Linked DNA regions of Homo sapiens: regions 1, 3 and 4 are each linked to region 2. The links are contacts of gene promoters, found by promoter capture Hi-C in blood cells and fetal thymus (Javierre and others, 2016). All regions are on one chromosome and are shown on one strand. Each heading gives the region's core, a stretch centred on a gene start or on the middle of the fragment in contact. The rest is flanking DNA. Distances are from core to core; before and after follow the strand shown. Region 1 overlaps GEMIN5 (gem nuclear organelle associated protein 5). Region 2 holds the start of HAVCR1 (hepatitis A virus cellular receptor 1). Region 3 overlaps MRPL22 (mitochondrial ribosomal protein L22). Region 4 has its middle 33 kb from the start of MRPL22.

Region 1 (3,227 bases), core at 669-3,168, 2.2 Mb before region 2:
GGATCACTGGAGGCCAGCAGTTCGAGACCAGCCTGGCCAACATGGTGAATCCCCGTCTCTACTAAAAATAACAAAAGTTAGCTGGGCATGGTGGCGGGCGCCTGTAATCCCAGCTACTCGGGAGGCTGAGGCAGGAGGATCGCTTGAGCCCGGGAAGTGGAGTTTGTAGTGAGCCAAGAGTGTGCCACTGCACTCCAGCCTGGGTGACTGGAGTGAAAATCTGTCTCAAAACAAACAAAAAACAAACAAAAAACCCATAATCAGAAAACCTACAAATATTTTGAACCTATAAAAACAAACAAGAAACCACACTGTTTTTTGACAGTTGCGTGTAATATATGTAATATTTTAGGCTGCTTTAACAAAATACTGTATTTTAATTACTAGATACCAACCTGGCTTCTCTTTTGGTGGCTCCTTTTTCAGTAAAATGACTTTGTTATTAATGGTGACTTTTGACTTTTCAAAGCCTGAGGAAACTGGAGTGCAGATAACTGGTTCTCTAGAAACTACATCATGGGGGAAAAAGGAAAAAAAAAGTTAAGGATAACAATAATACAGAATTTCAGTTCTTTGTAAAAATTAAGAGCCATTCCAAGCTTAGCAATATAATCAATTCATCTATTACCAAAACTTTTGAGATAAAATGCACTGGAAAAGAAGTAGGAGTAGTTTCCCCTTTCCCACCTCCCAAACTAGCTGTTTTCAGGAATCTGTAAGTCTATTACTTTGGTTTTTTTTTTTTTTTTGAGACGAAGTCTCACTCTGTCGCCCAGGCTGGAAATTCAGTGGCGCAATCTTGGCTTACTGCAACCTCTGCCTCCTAGGTCCAAGCAATTCTCCTGCCTGAGCCTCGCCAGTAGCTGGCACAAGCCACCATGCCTGGCTAATTTTTGTATTTTTAGTAGAGACAGGGTTTCGCCATGTTGGCCAGGGTGATCTCAAACTCCTGACCTCAGGTGATCCACCTGCCTCAGCCTCCCAAACTGCTGGGATTACAGGCGTGAGCCACCGCTCCTGGCTTACTTTTTTTTTTTTCTTTTGGTTAGAGATAAGATATAACTGTTGCCCAGGCTGGAGTGCAGTGGGTGCAATCACAGTCACTGAGGCCTTAACCTCCTGGGCTCAGGTGATCCTCCCCTCCTCAGCCTCCCAGAGTGGCTAGGACTATAGGCACAAGCCATTATCTTGGTAATTTTTATATTTTTTGCAAAGATGGGGGTTCCCTATGTTGCTTAGGCTAGTCTCAAGCTCCTGGGTTGAAGCAAGTCTCTTTCCTTGGCCTCCCATAGTGCTGGGATTACAGGCATGAACCACCATGCCCGCCTTACTTTGAACTTTGACTAAGGAAAAAGCTTCCAGCCCTCCACAACTTTATACCATAAGCCAAGGAGTTCCTATACTTTGCTCAGGTGACAAAGCACTTTTTACATTTCTAGGTCATAAAGTACTAATTGCATATTTAATTACACTAACAGGAGTAACTTTAATAATAGAGAATACTAGGTGTATGCAATATGGTGTCACAATCCTGAGCACAGGAACTTTTTAAAAACAACTTGTTGATCCATGTTTTGTATAGCCATTTTGTGAAAGAAAGACTTTTTAAAAAAAAGAAAAATAAAGAGATGGGGGGTCTTGCTGTGTTGCCCAGGCTGGCCTCAAGCGGTTCTCCTGCCTCAGCCTCCTGAGGATCTGGGACTAGAGGTATGTGTCTCTGTACCCGACTAGAAAAGCATTCTGATGAGCCAAAATAATAAATCCATTAGGCTTTTTGCTCTTTATTTACCCCAACTATGTGTCTAACAGCTATCCCTTGGGATGGAGAGCATCAGGAATGCCTTGTATCCTATATTCTAGCCATTTCAATACTGTCACATCAATGGATTCTGTTTTAGAATTAAGTATGAGTTACTGCTTCTACTTACACTGTTTGCTATTTAATCGTTTATTTTACCAGGGACCAGATATTTATCACTTGGTCTGACAAACCATTCTCAACAGGTCCCGAGTAAATGTACAAAATAAAAAGAGTGCTAAAATTTTTACCTAACAGTTTTTTTGTTAGTGATAGAACACTGTTTTGTGAGACATCTGAGAGCCATCACTACAGCTTAACTCACTAGAAAAACCTAATAACCATTCACACATTTTTTTTCTGTGAGAAGACAGAAAGCCGCGTACAAACTCCACGTAAGGGGGTGAGAGCTTGCAAGTTCCCACAGTGGTGGTAGCTTCTAGGTCAGACATTTGTAAGGGACAGTAGTTTCTTTCACCAAATGTGGCTACTGATGTCATACTGTTAAAACTTTTCCCATGTAAGTTCCTATGTACACAACTGACCCAGCTTCGCTTCGTCCCACGGTTTTACCTTGCCCAAGTTGAATAAGAAGTTTTCTCTGTAGAACTTTACTATTTCCACCACAAACATCCACTAGAACCCCTTTAAAACTTCAAAGATGTTTATTTTAGAGACTTGAATAAAGCTTAACAAAAAAAACTAATGCTGTTTCCAAGAGTTGGAAAAATGGGAACAGCGAAGTTTCAAACTGAGTAAGGACCTAGCTTAGTTTCCCAGACACGACCATGAAATCCTAGTGATACACAGGATTCTGCCACATACCCGCTGGAGCAAGGCCACAGGGTAATTCCGGCTCCCGTGCTTGCTCCTCCCCTTCTTGGTCTGACACACCATTCTCAACAGGTCCTGAGTTCTCCTTCATGCTTTCTTCTTCATTTCCATCAATCGATTCCAGCTTTACAGGAGTTCTCAAGGTGGGCTTTTTCTTCTTTTTGGGCTTTGCCTTAGGTTGAGAGAGCCGTTTTTTCTCCAATTCAATACTTTTTTTGCCTACAAGAATCACAATAAAGGACTGACTAAAGTATACATTCTTGGTTAAAAGCACTCTAGGTGGTAAACTCCAATATCTCATTCCTCTTTAATAGCATTTTTACCCATTCCCTTTCTTCTCAATGAACTTTTAGAATTATATTATCACAATATTAACCAAACCCTTTTGAAATTTCATTAAATCATAAACATGATGCCCAATAACACCCAAATATTTTAGTGTGTGTCTTATGAACAGGACATGCTCCGACGTCACCATAGTACAACCATGGAAATCAGGAAATTAACACGATTCACTACTGCCACCTACTCCATACTCTCTATTTAAGTTCTGCCAATTTTACCCAGATGTCCTTTTTTTTTTTTTTTTTTTTTT
Region 2 (3,397 bases), core at 225-2,724:
GCCTGTGACACACTGTGCTGCATCTTGCCTTGTTCATTTAGCCATGAATGTTGTAATTCACAGCAGTTAAGCAATTTCTTTGGCCTAAAACTTTATTCTGGTCCTGCTCACTAGTTAACTCATAGCCATACAACGGTACCCAAAGAACATCTACATTAATCCACCACCACCATCCCCTCCCCTTCCCCTACCCCATTCTCTGGCTTCTAACCCCCCTCTACTCCCTTCTTCCCGCCCAGGGCACCTACTCACTTACCTGCCAGATGTAGGATGAGGCTTAAGATGACCACTTGAGGATGCATTATGGGATCAGCCTGAAGGAAAATGAGCAGACAGGCTGGTTGGTACCCTCCACCAGATGGTATCTGATCAAGTCTTAAATCTCAGATTGCAACTTATCTTTTCACCCAGTTGGTTGATTCATATGAGCCTGCTCTGCTGGAAATGAGAGAAGACCACATATAACGGCTTCAGAGCTCTGTTAGTTCCCTGCAGCTGAGAGCTCTGTGCCTTCCAAAGGACAGGGAAAGCTGTCCACAGAAACAGCCCCTGACTTCCCAGCTTCTTCCCCACACATAACCGCCAAACTGACTCCTGGTCCTGATACAGGGTATCAGGGGAACAAACAAAAAGGAAACAGGGCCGGGCGCGGTGGCTCAAACCTGTAATCCTAGCACTTTGGGAGGCCAAGGCGGGCAGATCACGAAGTCAGGAGATCGAGACCATCCTGGCTAAAAGGGTGAAACCCCGTCTCTACTAAAAATACAAAAAATTAGCCGGGCGTGGTCACTGGCGCCTGTAGTCCCAGCTACTCGGGAGGCTGAGGCAGGAGAATGGCGTGAACCCGCGGGAGGCGGAGCTTGCGGTGAGCCGAGATCGCGCCACTGCACTCCAGCCTGGGCGACAGAGCAAGACTCCGTCTCAAAAAACAAAACAAAAAAAAAGAAAAGAAAAGGAAACTGGAAGCAGAGAACCAGCGTGGCTCAATGGCAGCACGAGAGCAAATGCCAGCCTTCCAGTGGCAGAGATGCACTTGCTTTTCAGAGTAAACTGGGCCTCTGGTGGACGTGGAGCTTTTCCTACTCAGTGGCCACAACGACTTATCCCTAGCCTTAACAGTCATATTGCCAAGTTTGCCATTAGCAAGAGAAATTGAGAGTGAATGTGAATCACTGTGCCTAACCTTTCATGCTCCTGTACAACATGCTTCAGACTACACCTCCTTACCAAGGGACTTCAAGAGAATGCTTCAGGAAACAGAAGTCTGGAGCAGACTTACGTTCAGATCCAGGCTCTGTCACTCACAATGCTGGGTAACCCTGAGAGTTCCTGAGTTCTCTTCAAACCTCTATTTCCTCAGTTGTAAAATAGCACTAAAAATGCTTCCTCTATCTCCCACCAAGGATTGATATAATAAGCAAAAAGGGCCACGGAAGAACTTGGAAAACTAAACCTACATCATATGCAGTAATAGCACTAGCTGAGGTTTTTGGAGAATACTATATAGCAGGCTCTGTGTCAAGCACCCACATGCGTTAAATCGGGCTGTTGACTTCTGCTGTTAATCATTAAACCATACAAACATGAGTAAGCTTGCCTAGTACTTCATTAACTCCTCTTCTGGTCTAAGAATTCAGTAACTTCCAAGGAGGCAGTGGTGGTCTGTATCTTGCAGCTCATGACAGGGTTCATGGGGAAGTGGATGATCTCAGCATAGTGTTTTGTATGGCAGCGTTTAAAAATTCATTTCTTGACCGGGCATGGTGGCTCGTGCCTGTAACCCCAGCACTTTGGGAGGCCGAGTAGGCCAGTCACCTGAGGTCGGGAGTTCAAGACCAGCCTGGCTAACACGGTGAAACCCCGACTCTACTAAAAATACAAAAATTAGCTGGGGGTGGTGGCGGGCGCCTGTAATCCCAGCTACTTAGGAGGCTGAGGTAGAAGAATTGCTTGAACCTGGAAGGTGGAGGTTGCAGTGAGCCGAGATCAAGCCATTGCACTCTAGCCTGGACAACAAGAACAAAACTCCATCTCAAAAATAAAAATAAAAATTCATTTCTTGCCAGGCACAGTGGCTCACGCCTGTAATCCCAACACTTTGGGAGGCCAAGGCAAGTGGATCACCTGAGGTAAGGAGTTTGAGACCAACCTGGGCAACATAGCAAGACTCCCTCTCTGCAAAAAAAACGAACAAAAAATATAGTCAGGCCTTGTGTACCTGACCGTAGTCCCAGCTACTCAGGAGGCTGAGGCAGGAGGGTTGCTTGAGCCCAGCAGTTGGAGGCTATGATTGTGCCACTGCACACCAGCCGGGGTGACAGAGCAAGACCCTGTTTCTTAAGGAAAAAAAGATTGAAAAAAAAAAGCTAATTCAATTCAACCAGTTATTACTAACATATTGAGCTGATGGGACATGACTCAATATACTAGGGACGTCAAAAATCCAGACTTGTGCAATCGGGCAGGGACATGGGTAAGTAAGCAACTAATGAAATCAGGATAAGTGAGGTAAAGGTAAATATATAATCAGACTACATCATTCCCCCACTTATAACCCTCTCATAACTCTCTCAGAAAAATAATAATAATAATAATAATAATAATTCCTAAATCTTTACTCAAATTACTGAAGCCCTGGTGGTCTGGCCCTGACCTACCCCATAGATTTCTTCTACCACTCTCTCCCCTGCTGACTCAGCCCCAGCTACTAGAGCTTTCTTTCCAACTTGCCTCAACCCTAAGGCCTTTTCCGTGGCTGTGTTCTCCATCTAGCTCCCCAGCCCCACCATTTTCACTTTTTTCCTTTTCATTTTTATCCCGGCTTAAATATGACCTCCCTGGACATTTTTCACAGGTCCTTCAATCTAAAGTAGCCAACCAGTCCCTCTCACTATTATTATCTTGTTTTCCTTAATCCATTTTATCTGTGTGTGCAATATATGTGGTGTCTGTCTCTATTCCCTCCTATAGAGTGCTGCCCGGTAGAATTTTAGTAATGGAGTTATTCTGGTAACGGAGTTATTCTGGAACTGATGAGCCACAGAGAGCCAAGACAGGGATGTGGAGCCAGTGCTCTGAGATGTTACATAACTGTACAATTCCATAGGATTTGAATTTGAATTCCATAGGATCGATTCTGTCTCCAGTAGAATATTGGTTACAGAGTTATTCTGTGTGAGTGTCGTGCACTACAGCAGCCACTAGCCACATATGACTATTGAGCACTTGAAATGTGGCTAAGGCAACCAAGGCATTTTTAATTTTTTTTTTTTCCAAGACAGAGCCTGACTCTGTCACCCAGGCTGGAGTGCAGTGTCACAATCTCAGCTCAGTGCAACCTCCATCTCCTGGGTTTAAGTGATTCTCTTGCCACAGTCTCCTGAGTAGCTGGGACTAC
Region 3 (2,969 bases), core at 48-2,547, 2.1 Mb before region 2:
CTCTGTAGGCTATATTTGTTAGCTGACTGACAGTTTTCAGTTTTTGAATTCCAAGTCTCCTATTTTACTGATGCATACATTTGAGAAGTTTTGTGACTTACTGAAGGTTACACAGTTAAATGTCAAAGTGAGGATCTAAACAAAATATTTTCTGGGACTACAGGTGCAGGCCGCCATACCTGGCTAAGTTTTGTATTTTTAGTAGAGATGGGGTTTCACCATGTTGGCCAAGCTGGTCTCAAACTCCTAGGCTCAAACGATCCGCCCGCTTTGGCCTCCCAAAGTGCTGGGATTACAGGCATGAGCCACCACGCCCAGCCAAAAAAATATTTTTTTTTAGGAGACAGAGTCTCACTATGTTGTACAGGCTGGTCTCGCACTCTTGGGCTCAAGTGATCTTCCCACCTCAGGCTCCCGAGTCTCTGGGATTACAGACGTGAGCCACCAAGCCTGTCTGTACCACCCTTTAGATGGGGGCATATCCTCTTAAGCTTTCCTCAGTTTCCAACCATGTGTAAAATTTTGGCATAGTTATTTACACTCAGTCCTCTTACCTTACCTGTCTCTGTATTCTTTCATTGATTCTACAAATATGTATTTAGTGCCTGCTCTGAGCTGGGAACTATTCTAGCACTGAGGATTTTGCAGGGAACAGGAACAGACAATAATCCCTTGCCATTGTGGGGTGTACAATATAGTAAGGGGGGCAAATAAGCAAAATAAGTAAAATATAGAGTATATTAGATAGTGACATCTGCTTATGAGAAAATAAAGCAGAGATTGAGAATAAGAAGTATGTGTGTTTGAGAGAGGAACTTGTAGTTTTAGATAGGGAAGGCCTCACTAAAAGATAATCTTTGAGTAAAGATTTGAAGGAAATGAGGAAGCATGCTGTGCTAACATCTGAACAAACAGCATTCTGTGCAGATAGAATAGTAAGTGCAACAGCTCCAAGGAACCATATCTGGTGTCAGGAACAATGACAAAAAGGAGAGGGATAGTGATAGGAGATGAGGTCAGAGAGGAAGGGGCAGTCATAAATCATATAGAGCCTTATTATTTTTTGTAAATACTTTGGCTTTTATTCTGAGCAAGATGGGAAACTGTTGTAAGGTTTTGAGCATGGAGTTATATGATCTGACTTATGTTTATGAGTGGTTCTTTCTGGCTGCTGTGTTGAGAATAGACTGGGGTGGGGATGGGGAGCAAGGATGGAAGCAGAGACCGTTGGCTATTTCAGGTATGAGATCATGGTGGCTTGGATTAGGGTGGCCGTGAAGGTAAGTGAATGGTTGGATTCTGGCAGTATGTTAACCACACCTGACAGATCTTGTTGATGCATTGGATGGGAGGTGTGAGAAAGAAGGGTGACACCAAAGTTTATGACCTGAGCAACTGGAAGGGTAGAGTTAACCACTTACTGAGCTAGGAAGACTTCCAGAGGAGCAGGTTTGGGGAGAATATTAGTAGGTCACTTTTGGGTTTGTTAAATCTGAGCTGTTGTAAGCATCCAAGTAGAGATACGAGTAGGCAATTGGGTATATGAGTTTATAGAGTTCAGGGAACGGATGTACATTTGGGAGTCATCAATGCATGGATAATGTTTAAAGCTGCAAAGCTGGTTGACTTCACCAAGGGAGTGAGTGTAGATAGAAAGAGTCCGAGGATTGATTCCTGCCTAAGGCAGCCAATATTACAGACCAGGGAGGGAGACAAGGAAACAACAAAGGAGACTGTGGGGGAGTGGCCAGAGAGGGGAGAAGAAAACCCCAAGTGTCCTGGAACCCAATTAAAGAAAGTGTCTCAAGGAAGAGTGAGTGACCAGAGATACTTAGGTCACTCTCAGATGAGGACTGATAATTAGAATTAGAATTTGTCTGTATTTTCTGTTTTAAGGTTGCTTCATTTTGTTTTAATTGAGTGTTATTCCAGCAATTGGCCAGGAGAGGGCACATAGGAACTTTTGATTTGATATTCTGTGCTTCTAAATTAAGAACCCCATTTGGAATAATACTTTAATTTAATTTGATTATAGTAGTTTGGTCTTTGCTTGATAATTCAGTTCATGAATTATTTGAGTCCTGAAAGTATTATAAGAATTCAGAAAGCTTTGACATTATTAATTCATAGTATGTTTAATTTATGAAGCAACATATTTAATTCACCAAATATGTATTGAAGATTTGAAGAGCGCAAGGTACTGTGCTAGGCGGGTACAGCAGGTATGGGCCTGACTCAAGAAATCTTTCAGATTGGTTTGTAGCAAAGGGGTTCATGTTTCTGTCATGCTGTTGGTGATGAGATTAGAGATAGAATTAAGGTTAGGAGAGGCCTTATAGATGATGTAGTCTAATTCCTCTTTTCACAGACAAAGAAACCAAGGTCCAAAGAGGTGACAAACATAGTGTACCCTACTCGCTAATTACAACTACATAGAACCATAAACGTTTATGATTATAAACTTGAGAAAAAACTTTGAAATTGTGTATTTAAAGCTTACAGTTCACAGGACTTATTTGGGGGCTGGGGACAGGAGAGATTAACTGTTCAAAGGGCCTAACTTTGTTTTATTTTTTATGCCCTTAAAAAAAGAAACACGGGTGTGGTGGCTCACACCTGTAATCCTAGCACTTTGGGAGGCTGAGATGGGTGGATCACCTGAGGTCAGGAGTTCAAGACCAGCCTGGCCAACATGGTGAAACCCCGTCTCTACTAAAAATACAAAAATTAGCCAGGTGTGGGGTGCGGTGGTGCGTCCCTGTAATCCCAGCTACTTGGGAGGCTGAGGCAGGAGAATCGTTTGAATCCAGGAGGCGGAGGTTGCAGTGAGCTGAGATCGCACCATTGCATTCCAGCCTGGGTGACAAGAGTGAAACTCTGTCTCAAAATAAAATAAACAAAACAGAGGCAAGGCCTTGCTATGTTGCCCAGGCTGGTCTTGAACTCCTGGCCTCAAACAGTCCTCCTAT
Region 4 (3,259 bases), core at 497-2,996, 2.1 Mb before region 2:
TATAAGACAAGTATGCCGACTATCCATGATCATTTAATATTTTCTGAAAGTTTAGCCAAAACAGTAAAACAAATGAAATAAGAGAAAAATCTTTGGAAAGGAGGAGGCAAATTATTATTTACATATAATTGCCTATCTAGCAATCTAATAAAGTAAACAGAAAAAATATTTGAAGTAAGTAGAGTTCAATAAGGCAGTTGGTTACAAAATCAATATGCCATACACACACACACACACACACACACACACACACACACACACACACACACACACTTATTTAAGAGACAGGGGTCTCACTGTTTCTGTTGCCCAGGCTCAAGCTCTGGGGCTCAAACCCTTCACCTCAGCTTCCCAAGTAGCTAGGACTACAGGCACATGCCACTGTGCCCAGCTAAAGCTTATCTTTCAAAATCAACAACTCAAAAGAAAAGATAATTTTTAAAAAGTATTAAAAATAGAAACTAAAATATAAAATATCTAGGAACAAACTTACATAAGTAGGCAGGACCCATAGAAATAGAACTGTAAAACTTTATTGAGGGATTTGAAAGAAGACTGGAATAAATGATAGGGCATACCCATTCTTGAATGGCATAACTCAAGAATTCAACCACTTCAATTCTAATAAAAATGTCAAAAGCATTTTTTTAACTAGAGAATATAATTCTAAAGTCACCTGGGAAGCTTAATAAAGGGATGAAGAAATTTTGGAAGATTGAGGGGTGACTTACATTGCTAGGAAGAAAGGTTTATTATTAAAGCAGCATGATTCTTATGTAGCCTCCCAGACAGGCTCAAGTATATAGATTTGATATAGGATAAAGGTGGAATTGAAATATACTTACACTTCTGCTTAGGATATAGCTGCAAAGCTCATCACTCTCACCCTAACAATGAAAATGACAGGTAAATGACAAAATCATTACTTTTGTTGAGCCCGTAAGAAAGAATAGCTTCTGAGGCAACCAAGTAAGCTAATTCAAAAGAGAGACAAGTTCCTCCAAGGAGAGATGAGCTATGCAAACTGTCTTAACTGTCAGAGCACAAAAAGAGGGGCCACCACTTTTTAAGTGGATTAGAAATCAGGGAAATTGTTACATGCTGTCAAAATCCATGTGTGGATTAGTGGGCATTTGTTTTATTATTGTTCATGACACTGTGCTGCCTTCTGTGTATATGATGTATTTTAAAGTAGGGAAAAAGTAAATTTGGGGTCCAAATGTAATTTCCTGCATTTTTACACACAGGGGAATTTAGCCACAGAGAGGCTGGGTCCATTGGTGAAGATCAATTACTCCCATTTCCCAGTTCAATTTTCCATTCCCTATCCAATGCTCTGGCATCTAAAGCAGCCACATGATTTAGCATAAGTTAATAGACTCTGAACTTTTAAAATCAAGGCCAGTTTAAAAGAACTTAAGTTGCAGATATGAGATGTTTAATAAAAAATGAACACATACGGGTGAAATTTATCTGACTTGGGATGGAGAAAGCTTTTTATAAAGCAAAGGCAGAAGCCATAAAGAAAAAGATGAACATCTTAGGAGTATTAAGAGATATATCTGAATGATAAGATTACAGGCAACCTTTAATTTTACTTTGTGTGTTTTTCTATATTTTTGATGTTTTCTAAGTGAAATATATATTACCTAGGTAATTAGAAAAAATAGTAAAATTAAAAATAAATATCACTTTGAGTACTGTGAGCAGAAGCAGGAATGGAAGAATGCAGCTAACTCAGGAGAAATATGTGTTTTTAGCAGCTATCATTACCTTGAGTTTTCACATAAAACCTTAAGTTTTATAGGTGGAGAGAAAAACCAGGGGAAAGCACCTGATTAAGTGGCATTAAGTGGATGCTGGTGAAAATGTGACCACATTAGAATGTTGAAATATGATGAAATTGTGGCACAGGCCATCCTTGGATGTGCAGGTTGTGACCTGAGCAGAACTGTCTTCTGACCCATCCCTGCTCATCACAGATATTAAGAGTCTGAAGAAAGCTTGGCACAGGCAGGGTGTAGAGAACACAATAGGAAGTCTTGGTAAAGTCACAGAAGCAAGAGAAGCCCTTATACCCTCCACCCAGTGATTTCAAGTGGGAGAGAAAGAACGAGAAGTCTCTTGGAGTTTATGCTTAAGCCTCACCTGACTTTATTACTTTGCTATGTGGCTAGTTTCTTTTCTTTCCCTTCTTTTCTCTCTCTCTCTCTCTCGTCTCGCTCTGTTACTCAGGCTGGAGTGCAGTGGCGTGATCTCGGCTCACTGCAACCTCCGTCTCCCGGGTTCAAGTGATTCTCCTGCCTCAGCCTCCCAAGTAGCTGGGACTACAGGAGCGCACCACCACACCCATCTAATTTTTGGCCAGGCTGGTCTCAAACTCCTGACCTGAGGTGATCCACCCGCCTCAGCCTCCCAAAGTGCTGGGATTACAGGCATGAGCCACTGCTCTCGGCCTAGTTATTTCTTTATGTCGAAGTTCCCTGCTCTGATAAGATGGTGCAAAGTGAGAGTGTTAAATGTGGCTTTTCTCTTAATGACTTGTTTTCTCATAAGCCAACAGTGTTGATTGTCTGTGTTAATGGAGAGGATTTGCAAGCCCATGACTAAGTGAAAAGTACAGACCTCTACATCCCTAAAACCTTAGCTTGATTTTTACTCCCCTCTCTGCCCTCTTTTCTAGTATTTTTCTGCACTGTTAAAACCCTCCAGTGGCTTTCCACAGGTGTCAGGATAAAGTTTAAACTTCTTGTCTTACAAATACCTGCTTTTCATTATAGCATCAATGCTCATTACCACATACTTCAACCATACCAAATGACCTATAAATACCTATGGCCTCTTATTTCATGTCTCTGGGCATTTACAGTCTTGCTAATATTACCAAATGCCTACTATTGTGTCCGGAATTGGTTCCTTCCGGTGGGTTCTTGGTCTCGCTGACTTCAAGAATGAAGCCGTGGACCCTAGCAGTGAGTGTTACCGTTCTTAAAGATGGTGTGTCCGGAGTTTGTTCCTTCAGATGTTCAGATGTGTCCAGAGTTTCTTCCTTGGTCTTGCTGACTTCAGGAGTGAAGCAGCAGACCTTTGCAGTGAGTGTTACAGCTCTTAAAGGTGGCGCAACGGGAGTTGCTCGCTCCTCCTGGTGGGTTCGTGGTCTCGCTGACTTCAGGAGTGAAGCCACAAACATTAGCGGTGAGTGTTACAGCTCATAAAGGTGGTGTGGACCCAAAGAGAGAGCAGCAGCAAGATTTATTAT

The links. Contacts are between HindIII fragments. The CHiCAGO score rates a contact against its expected background, and 5 or more counts as called.
Region 1: a contact is called between a fragment that was not itself captured here and the fragment with the promoter of HAVCR1 in region 2, in 1 of 17 cell types (M0 macrophages). The highest score is 5.8, in M0 macrophages.
Region 3: a fragment that was not itself captured here is called in contact with the fragment with the promoter of HAVCR1 in region 2 in 1 of 17 cell types (M2 macrophages); the score reaches 6.7 in M2 macrophages.
Region 4: a fragment that was not itself captured here is called in contact with the fragment with the promoter of HAVCR1 in region 2 in 1 of 17 cell types (M0 macrophages); the score reaches 5.8 in M0 macrophages.

What each region holds. Positions count from the first base shown.
Region 1 is chr5:154,904,968-154,908,194 of GRCh38, forward strand. GEMIN5 (gem nuclear organelle associated protein 5) reads right to left here. Exons shown (of 28, transcript NM_015465.5): 16 at 2,624-2,851; 17 at 396-509. Among named protein-coding and RNA genes, the nearest start is that of GEMIN5, 32 kb to the right of the region's middle. The HindIII fragment of the contact is 1,131 bases long and covers 1,354-2,484 here.
Region 2 is chr5:157,057,642-157,061,038 of GRCh38, forward strand. It overlaps HAVCR1 (hepatitis A virus cellular receptor 1), which reads right to left and starts at 1,475. Exons shown (of 9, transcript NM_001173393.3): 1 at 1,280-1,475; 2 at 257-314. The coding sequence starts at 302. The HindIII fragment of the contact is 9,361 bases long and covers 1-1,590 here.
Region 3 is chr5:154,943,938-154,946,906 of GRCh38, forward strand. All of the region lies in intron 2 of MRPL22 (mitochondrial ribosomal protein L22), which reads left to right. Among named protein-coding and RNA genes, the nearest start is that of MRPL22, 4.3 kb to the left of the region's middle. The HindIII fragment of the contact is 1,617 bases long and covers 490-2,106 here.
Region 4 is chr5:154,972,851-154,976,109 of GRCh38, forward strand. No RefSeq gene overlaps it. Among named protein-coding and RNA genes, the nearest start is that of MRPL22, 33 kb to the left of the region's middle. The HindIII fragment of the contact is 510 bases long and covers 1,492-2,001 here.